Linked DNA regions of Homo sapiens: all the other regions are linked to region 3. The links are contacts of gene promoters, found by promoter capture Hi-C in blood cells and fetal thymus (Javierre and others, 2016). All regions are on one chromosome and are shown on one strand. The core of a region is centred on a gene start or on the middle of the fragment in contact, and the rest is flanking DNA. Distances in the headings are between cores, read along the strand shown.

The links. The method cuts DNA at HindIII sites, captures the fragments that hold promoters and counts their contacts. A CHiCAGO score of 5 or more calls a contact.
Region 1: a fragment that was not itself captured here is called in contact with the fragment with the promoter of NUP58 in region 3 in 2 of 17 cell types (total B cells and total CD4 T cells); the score reaches 6.4 in total B cells.
Region 2: a fragment that was not itself captured here is called in contact with the fragment with the promoter of NUP58 in region 3 in 1 of 17 cell types (neutrophils); the score reaches 5.9 in neutrophils.

Annotation. Positions count from the first base shown.
Region 1 is chr13:27,171,911-27,175,366 of GRCh38, forward strand. USP12-DT (USP12 divergent transcript) reads left to right here and starts at 349. Exons shown (of 2, transcript NR_046548.1): 1 at 349-462. RefSeq lists a silencer at 1-427 and an enhancer at 488-677. The HindIII fragment of the contact is 2,057 bases long and covers 1,176-3,232 here.
Region 2 is chr13:27,240,987-27,244,398 of GRCh38, forward strand. No RefSeq gene overlaps it. Among named protein-coding and RNA genes, the nearest start is that of LINC00412, 5.4 kb to the left of the region's middle. The HindIII fragment of the contact is 3,762 bases long and covers 219-3,412 here.
Region 3 is chr13:25,299,938-25,303,132 of GRCh38, forward strand. It overlaps NUP58 (nucleoporin 58), which reads left to right and starts at 1,688. Exons shown (of 16, transcript NM_014089.4): 1 at 1,688-1,943. The coding sequence starts at 1,837. RefSeq lists enhancers at 1,344-1,583, 1,744-1,823, 1,934-1,983. The HindIII fragment of the contact is 2,784 bases long and covers 1-2,419 here.

The DNA.
Region 1 (3,456 bases), core at 954-3,453, 1.9 Mb after region 3:
CGCGAAGCCGCCCTCCGCCCACCCCGCCCAGCGCACAGGGGAGCGGGCTCCGCCGAGGCCCTAATGCCCGGCCTGCCAGGCAGCGGCGCGGCCAGGCGGCGCAGCCCCGCCCACCCCTCGGCAACCCCTCCGCGGCCCTTGTGCGCGAGCCGGGGAACTCCGGTCCGTCCCCACCCCGCGCGCGGCAGAGGGCAGGACCGAAGGCGGGCGCCACCTCCTGCCCGCGTCCCTGCGGTCCTAGAGCCGGGGACCCAGAGACCCCCGCGTAGGAAGGGGTGCGGCGGGGAGGCGCGGGGGTGGCGGCGGCGATCTGGGAGAACCCTGGAGGGGACCAGCTGCGACACCCACCGCGGGCGAGGGGACGGCGAGCCCCCGCTGCCTAAACAGAAAACGGAGGCGATGATCTGGGTAACTACGGGCGGAGTGGGAGGAAACCTGCTCTGCACAGTTAAGATAACCCGGGTATGCGTCCCAAGCACTTGGTTTGTTTCTTTTTACGTATATTGGATGAATCACCGGAGTCAAACACAACTTAGAAAAAGACAAAATAATTAAACAAAAATGAAGAGGCAAAGAACAAATTACACATGTTTAACTCTTTGAATTAAGAAGAAAGATAAGTAATGGGGGAAGGAGAGGAGCGAAACCTGTTGGCCTGTTGGCGATAAATTTATAATAGGCTTCTAAATATCTGCACATTGAGCTGCAAAATAGGGAGGATCTCAAGCCAGCAGTGATGATGATATTACCAGAGACAGGAAGCCCGCAAGCAAGAAAAATGCCCTGTGAGAAATCCTTAGGCAGTGCTGGCTACTGGCATGGGTAGTTCCTCTTTCTCCTTTTATAAAATTCATATTTGCACCCTGTTCTTCATGCCTGGCAGCTCAGCTTTATTTTTTCCTATTTGAGAAAGTAGTTCAAGTGAGTAGAATAACTTCATAAATTATTATGTTAGAAAGCTTGTGATATTTTCTGATTGAACTCGTGATGGGGTACTTTTCTGGGTTCCCCTAATTCAGTGGGGTTGAGGATCTGAATTCAGGCAGAGCTGTAAAATCAGAAATGCCTCACCTCAAGGGTTCAAAGCACTCAAAAACAAAAAGCATTCAAACAAAATTTAAGTGAAAAATAGACTTCTGGTACATGAATACTGTTTCCATAGTGATTCCATTATAAGCTTGCTTGGGGGGGGAATGCAGATTGAATATAGCCAAGCCCCATGGTAGCCGGACTGGATCTCCAAGCGCCTGCCTCCATGGAAGCCAAGAGCCCTGATACCCCAGCCAGGGGCTTTCCTCTCTATACTTGCAAGCATCACCCACCTGAATTCTTTCTTGCTCTTTTCTACCCCCTGTTTGGACAAGGGTTTCTACATCTTAGACCTCTAGGGCCTACCTGGGCCTTGTCCGAGTGTCACCATGCCCATCTGTGTGCCCGTCCTGATAAATAGCTGTGGTCATCCTGTCCTTCCCACTTGCTGTTCTATTCCAGCAAACAGGTCTGATGTGCCAGAATTTTAGACCTGCCTCCATCCCGCTAACCACCCATATGCCTCCTTGTCCATTAATCCGAACATGTCACAGGAACAAAAGCCACTGGCTTTACATATAAGTTTATATAAGAACAAGGCCTTTCTAAAATGAATTTCTAGGCTGAGTATGGTGGCTCACACCTGTAATTCCAGCACTTTGGGAGGCCGAGGCAGGTGGATCACTTGAGGTCAGGAGTTGGAGACCAGCCTGGCCAACGTGGTGAAATCCCGTCTCTACTAAAATACAAAAATTAGCCAGGCGTAGCAGTGTACGCCTGTAATCCCAGCTACTCAGGAGGCTGAGGCATAAGAATAGATTGGATCCTGGAGGTGGAGATTGCAGTGAACTGGGATTGTGCCATTGCACCCCAGCCTGGGTGACAGAGTGAGACTCTCTCAAAAATAAATAAATAAATAAATTTCTAGGCTGGGCACAGTGGATCAGGCCTGTAATCCCAGCACTTTGGGAGGCTGAGGCAGGAGGATGGCTTCCAACTTCCTTGAGACCAGGGAGTTCAAGACCAGCCTGGGCAACATAGTGAGACCTTGTCTCTACTAAAAATAAAAATAAATACGTGGTGCATGGTGGCGCATACCTATAGTCCCAGCTACTTGTGAGGCGAAGTAAGAGGATAACTTAAGCCCGAGATATCCAGGTTGCAGTGAGCCATGATTGAACCACTGCACTGTAGCCTGAGCGACAGACTGAAACAGTATCTCAAAAATACAGCACAGTGGCTCTCGCCTGTTGTAATCCCAGCACTTTGGGAGGCCAAGGCGGGCGGATCACTTGAGGTCAGGAGTTTGAGACCAACCTGGCCAACATGGAGAAAGCCCATCTCTACTAAAACTACAAAAATTAGTTGGGCATGGTGGCGAGCACCTGTAATCCAAGCTACTAGGGAGGCTGAGGCAGGAGAGTCGCATGAACCTGGGAAAAACCAGTGAGCCGAGATCATGCTACTGCACTCCAGCTTGGGCGACAGAGTAAGATTCCGTCTCAAAAATTAAATTAAATTAAATTTTAAAAAGTAAAATGGATTTCTGATAGAATTATCTGGAGTCATGTCTAGTTGATGTTGGAGCCATCTAAATTCACAGGTAAAGTCATGAAACCTAATCACAGAGCCTCACAATGCCTTGTCTCCACAGCCTATGGTCGATTGGAGAGACACAAACATAAAAGAGACATTCTTGAATCTATGTGCTAGGTGTTGTACTGAGTGTTCTTTACCATATGTAATGCAGTTGGAGAATAAGTTTGGCTGAAACTCCACACTTTTGCACCCTGAGCTTGGAAAGGGTAATCTGGCTTTAGAACACAGCTTTACACAGCTGTGTAATCAGCTTTACAAAGAGCTTCCCTGTGCCTAGCAAAAGATGAGTTTGTGTACAACTGACTCCTTTTCGGCCTTCTTGAATATGCAAACTACAAAATATGCCCAGATGCCTCAGGGACCAGGCAAGTAAATGAACTATGTCCAACCTTAATCCATTTAGTCAGCACAGCATTTTATAATGTTTTCATTTGCATACTGTTACACAATCCTACACTCTCCAGTTCCTTACAGTCTGCCTCAAATTTTCCTTTACTCATTCTGTTCAACAGTTTAACACAAGTCACTTTATTATATAGTTCTGCTACCTCTTTTCTCCCTGAAGGCATGTGGGTTTATACCAGCTCACATAAATGATTCGTGAAGCTTTGCTTGTGATGGGTTGGGAAAGAAAGTGATGGGGAGTGGTCCAAGAAGGGGTGTAAACATTTTATCTAATCCTTGCAACAACCTAATGAAGCAGGTGTTACGATTATCCCCACGTTTAGATAAGGAAACCAAGGCACAGAGATAACTTTTCCAGGGTTGCACAACTAACTAGTAAGCAATGGAACCAAGGTTTGAACCTAGCTCCAGGAGCCACACCTG
Region 2 (3,412 bases), core at 850-3,349, 1.9 Mb after region 3:
AGTGTCCTCTATTAAATCACTTAGAATATTGTAATGAACTTGCTTTTTTCTTCTACCAGACTCTTTGTGGGTTCCTTGACGGCAAGGATCATGTTTTATTCATTTTCATGGTCTCATCACTTAGTACAGTATCTGATTTAATCTAGAAGCTCATAAATATTGAATGAATTTTGATATTTCCTATTTTCTACATGTAATTTACTTCATATTTCTTTTAAAGCTTCAATTCTTTTCTTATTCTCTTTATATTAACGGTCTCAAACTAGAGACACATTGACCATTAGTGAATCAGGAAGCCACTTTGTTTTTCAGATCTGTACATTGGAGCTAATGACACAAACCTATTTTAAAAGGCTATAGTAAAAATAAATTCCTTATCCTCTTGAGAGAAAAATGCTAATAAAATTGGGATTTACTTTGGGAAGCCATTTTGCAATATTTTATGAAGTTAGACATACACCTACTGATATGGTTTGCCTCCGCGTTCCCCACCCAAATCTCATCCTGAACTGTACTCCCATAATTCCCACATGTTGTGGGAGGGACCCGGTGGGAGATAATTTGAATCATGGAGGTGGTTTACTCCATACTGTTCTCATGGTAGTGAATAAGTCGCATGAGATCTGATGTTTTTATCAGGAGTTTCCACTTTTGCATCTTTCTCATTCTCTCTTGCCTGCTGTGATGTAAGACGTGCCTTTACCTCCCACCATAATTGTGGGGCCTCCCCAGCCACATGGAACTATAAGTCAAAGTAAACCTCTTTCTTTTGTAAATTACCCAGTCTCAGGTATGTCTTTATCAGCAGCGTGAAAACAGACTAATACACCTACCTTACGATCAAGGAATGTAACTCCTAAGCTGGGCTCAGTAGCGCACATCCATTGTCCCAGCTACTCTGGAGGCTGAGATAGGGGGATTGTTTGTGCTCAGGAGTTTGGGGCTGTAGTGAGCTATGATCACACCACTGAACTCCAGCATGAGCAACACAGCGAGACCCACAAAAATTATGTACAACTCAAACTGCCATCAAGAGGAGAACAGAAAAATAAATTGTGATATATTCTACAGTGGAATACTACTTTCACAATAAAAAGAATTGAACTACTAGTACATGCAATATGATTGATTCTCAACGACATTCAGCTAAACAAAAAGAGCCACAGGAAAAAAAAGTACAAACTGTATGGTACCATTCATAGGAAATCCAAGATTAGGCAAAACTAACTTATGGTTATAGAAATCAGAATATTGGCCAGGCAGGCTGGCTCATGCCTGTAACCCCAGCACTTTGGGAGGTCAAGGTGGGAGGATCATTAGAGGCCAGGAGTTCAAGACCTGCCTATATAACATAGCAAGATCCCATCTCAATCAATGAATCAAACAGAAATCAGAATATTGTTTTTAGTCAGGGAGGGGGTTGACTGGAAGGGATGTCTACCCTATGTTTATTGGAGCAGGGAGAGTGCAATTCTGGTCCCCTTAGTTTTGATGTGGGTAGGGAGTACCTTCCTAAGAATATGCACATGGGACAGGAGTTAAGGCCCCCAAGTAAATGGAGGTCTAGTAGGAAGAAGGAATGAGTTTGAGTAGCTAAAAAACAATGTCCCAATGTCCACTCCGTAACCCAACTCCTCATTTAGTATTGGAATGCCTTCAACATCCAATTCAGCTAAAACAATATGAGTTAAACTAATTATTAGGTATCCTGCATCTAAATAATTCATCCCTAGGGGCTCCAGATTAAAATGATGGATTAAATACCCTCATCTAATTTTGTTACCTCCGAGAATCCCATTGGGTGTGTGTGCGTGTGTGTGTGTGTGTGTGGGTGTGTGTGTGTGTCTAACGACCTAAACCATATGCATGGGGAAGATAAAAAATAACAGCAACATTTTGAAAGCTGAAAAACAGATGGACAAATGCCAGCTGACGTAGGTGACTTGAGAAAGCTCAATCCCAAAACAGCAATGGAAAAACCTGAAGAGCGACTTTTTGTACACTGTAGAATCTTCTAAATGCATAGGAATAGGTACCACCCATTACCTCCTAGGAGTTTCATAAGAATTAAGTAAGATAATATTTGTAAGTGCTTACTGGCACATAGAATGAGCCCTCAGGAAATATCAGCTATCACTACCACTGTCATGCCTTTGGTTAAAACGAGTCAGATTCTCAACTGTCTATAGAAAAAGATTAAGCATTCTTTTTTTCTTTTTTTGTAATGGGCACAGAGGATATTTATTTAAGATGGTGGTTTTCAAACTTTTAAAAAAGTAGCAGACCGCTTGTTTTGTAAATGAACCTTACTATAGGAAGCAGATAAATGTGGCACTCCTCGGGGAGCAGCAAGGGTGAGGGGCCTGGGCTCTACCCTCTCACTTTCCACCTTGTCCTTTAAAGGAGACTCTGACATCCCTGAGGAACACAATTGGTTTAGAGGGAAAGGGAAAAGAGGTTAACATTTAGACATGTAAATGAACGAATAAAATAAATGAATAGGGAAAAAAGGAAACCCTTTCCTTAATGTGGAAGTAGAAGTGGAGCTGGAAAATCACCGCTTTGTAACCATCACAGTAAAAATTGCAAGAATCACGATGAATACTTAATCCAGGAGGGAAAGTTTGTTTAGAAGCAAGATATTTGCGTGATCTTCGTGCAAACAGATGGCACATAAGGGAGAAAACGCTGCTTATACCAGGGCAAATATTACTGACCTGCAGACTAGAGAAACATGAATGTCACCTAAGGCAAGAAAAGGCTGAAGTGCTTCAGATTAAAAGCTAAGAGAGACACAGCGACTATTAATAAATACAACATATGATTTCTGACTGGATCATGTAAAAAAAAAATGCCATAAAGGACATTATTGGGACAACTGACATTTGAAATGTGGATTGTAAATGTGATACCAGCCAGGAGCCTGCAATCCCAACACTTTAGGAGGCTGTGGCAGACAGATCACTTGAGCTCAGAAGTTCAAGACCAGCCTGGGCCACATGGTGAAACCCCCTCGCTATAAGAAATTAAAAAATTAGCTGGGTGTGGTGGCACCTGTGGTCCTAGTTACTTGGGAGGCTGAGGTGGGAGGATGGCTTGAGCCTAGGAGGTGGAGACTGTAGTGAGCTAGGATCATGCCACTGCACTCCAGCCTGGGCCATAAAGCAAGACTCTGTCCAAAAAAAAAAAAAAAAAAAAAAATTGATATAAGCATTGTATCAGTTTTGTTTCCTGAATTTGATAAATGTACTGTGGTTATATGAGAGAATGTCCTCATTCTTAGGAGACACAAATCAGTACAGTATATGGCCTAAAGAGGAAAAGATATGTGTGACCCACTCTCAAACAATTTAGAAAAAAACATATACAGTGTGTTTACATAGATGGAGAAAACAGTGGTTCTCAAAGTGGG
Region 3 (3,195 bases), core at 438-2,937:
AGTGAGCCGAGATGGCACCACTGTATTCCAGCCTGGGCAACAGAGCGAGACTCTGTCTCAAAATAAAGTAAAATATAAATTAAATTTAAAAAACAAAATAAAATGTACGTTTCTTTTTAATTATACAAACACAGAGGTGGTGTATTAGTCTGCTTGGCTGATACAACAAAATACCATAGACTGAGGTGGCTATAACAACAGACATTTACTTCTCTCAATTCTGGAGGCTAAGTCCCAGATAAAGATGGGGCAGTTTGGGTTCCAGGTGAAAGCCCCTTCTTGCTCTGTCCTCACATGGCACACAGAGGAGAACAAGCTCTTCGTTGTTTTTTCTCATAAGGGCACTAATCTCGCCATGGGCGACCCACCAAGGTGACCTCATCTAAATTGAATTACCTCCCAAAGGCTCCATCTCCAAATACCAACATATTGGGGTGGGGTAGGGCTTTAACATATGGATTGGGGGAGGAGGGAAATAGTTCAGTCCACAGCTGGTGGCAATGCCCAAGCTCAACGGAAGATTAAAGTACTGAATTAGGGAGAACTGTGAGATGAGGTTAGAAAGACTAATCATACGGAGGTCATCAAGTGCCAAACTAAAGAGCCACTGGGCTTTTTAGATCATAAATCCGGGGGTTGCTTATGGGATGGATTTTGTTAGAGATCACGAGTAGGAAAACCATTTGGGGGAGTAATGTAACAATCCCTGAGGGAAAAATAAAAACTAACACTATGATGACAACCCTCGAATGCACCACCACCAGGAAGCCTTTCCTGATGCTTCGCCAGAGAGGTTCTCTTTAAACGCGAATTTTTCTTGAGTTATCCTAGAAATGTAAGTTACACCTCACATTTCGCCTTCTTTCGTACATGTTCCTGTGCGTTTCCTAATCCTTCCACTTTGTAGTTCCTCCAGCACCGGTTGTGTCCGAGGGCCCTTCTGGCGGAGCCACACTCGCTCGGCCCAAGGTCCCGCCCTCCAGCATCAGGATGCACGGACAGTATTTGTGGACTTGACCGCATCCCAGGAAATCCAGCGGGCCTGGCCACTTCTGGGCGCCAGGACCACAGCCGGCCACCCCACGGACGCCTGGGACGCTCTTCTGGGCCCCCTTCGGGGCTGGGCGTCGGGCTCGCAACAACTGCGACCAACTGGCTCCGCGAGGCCTGGGGCGCAGGGGTGGGGCTCACGTCGTGGGACGGTTGCATGGATTATTTTCGATTGATTTCCGAACCTTCAGGAAGCAGACACGCTCCCCTTCCTTCTTAGGGATGGGGCGGCAGCCAACGAAAGCCCGAAGCCGCCTCCTTTTCTGAGTGGGGAGCTTAGAGATGCTCAGGAGGGACCTCCCCGATTCTGCGATTCTGAGCATCAATTTTGGCAGGAGGCTAGATAGAAGTAGCAATTGACATTCATCACCCTAAAGTGCGGATTATGTCAGTACAGATGCTACGATAGAAGAACTAAAAAATGACAGAAATGGTTTTACTGTTTTTAAACTCTGGGAGCCTACTCCTTTAAGAGATTAGGCAGTACGCCTATTCTCGCCTGGTCCCAGCGTACCTTGCGCGGCTCGCCGTCCCCCACTCACGTACCAGGGCTCATTGCGTGACGGTTACACTTCCGGCGGGCTACGTGCGCGCGGCGAGCGCCGGGCGTACTTTTGCGTGGTTGCTCCACCCCCTCAGCCTTGCCTTCGCCGCCGTTGGGGCTGGAAGTTCCCGCCAGGTCCGTGCCGGGCGAGAGAGATGCTGCCCGGCCCGCCTCGGCTTTGAGGCGAGAGAAGTGTCCCAGACCCATTTCGCCTTGCTGACGGCGTCGAGCCCTGGCCAGACATGTCCACAGGGTTCTCCTTCGGGTCCGGGACTCTGGGCTCCACCACCGTGGCCGCCGGCGGGACCAGCACAGGCGGCGTTTTCTCCTTCGGAACGGGAGCGTCTAGGTAACCGCACTTTCTCGCCTTCCTGGGCCGGATTCACCCCCACCCCCACCCCCGCAAAGCTCCCTTGGTGTCCCCATCCTGTCTCTTCCCTCTGGCTTCCTTCCCAGTGGGGCTGGAGAGAAGCACTTAATCTAGCCGCCCGGCGTCGTAGGCCTCTCGCCGCGGTACCCGGGCCCAGCGCGGCCTGGTGAAGTGGAGGGCGGGATGGGTTCTGTGCTGTGAGGTTTCCAGAATCCACGTATAGTTCAGGCATTATTTGGACCTAGTGGGGTCTTGACTGCGTGGAAGGGCCTTGGGGTCTACCCCGGAGCTTTAGCGATGTGTCAGTCTTAGGCATAGAATGAACATTGAATGAATGAATGAAATTATAGCATACTGTGGAGTTTTATGATAGATAATTCCGATTTCATTGCAGCATTTGCGGTTTTGGATATGACGGTGTTTTAATAACTTTGTGGTTTTTAACCAGCTTTTCAAGCTTTTGTGCCACATGGGACCTTATCTGTTTTTGTTAAAAAAAACAAAAACACTTTTTTACAGTGTTTATTAGTGGTAATTTTCTGCAGTATGTGCAGATTAGTATATCTGATGCGAGAATGTTGTGTTGTAATAACTCAATTTGTCTTTTACTTAAATTACAAAACGTAGGTAGCATGTTCCTTGTTTTTGTGCAACCCATTAGTTCAGGTGGCGACAAAAACATAACTATCCAGAAAGAAACAAAGTGGTGAGACATTTTAATGAGAGATTTAAGCTTTAGAACTCAATTTTTTTTAAGATAAAGGTGGAGGGGTTCATAAAGTTAAGGAGTGTGCACACTGTCAACAAGATACTTCCTGAAGCTTAAAAGATGTGGCTGTAGATTTAAAAGGCAAATACTTAAGCATGACCTGCAGTTTAAAAAGGGAGGGAGGAGGAACCACGGACTACACAGTCAATTCAGAAATTTGAATTTTCATCCATACCTCCGTTATTCTTACTCTACTCGCTCAACAACAGGTTCTGATAATGTTACTTCTGCCATTTCTGTTTGTCTTTATTTCCAGTTCCACAACCCTGCTTAGGCTATTGTCATTCGTGGAACAAATATTTATTGGACAGATTCCCATGTGCAAGGCTCTGTTTTAGGTATTAAGAGTCTTGCTCTCTTGATCCTTACATTCTTATGAAAATAATTTTGATTCTTGTCAGATTTTTAACCAGCTGTCTTTCTTGTTTTAGATGAAAACTACTCCAATCAACTTCTTCAATC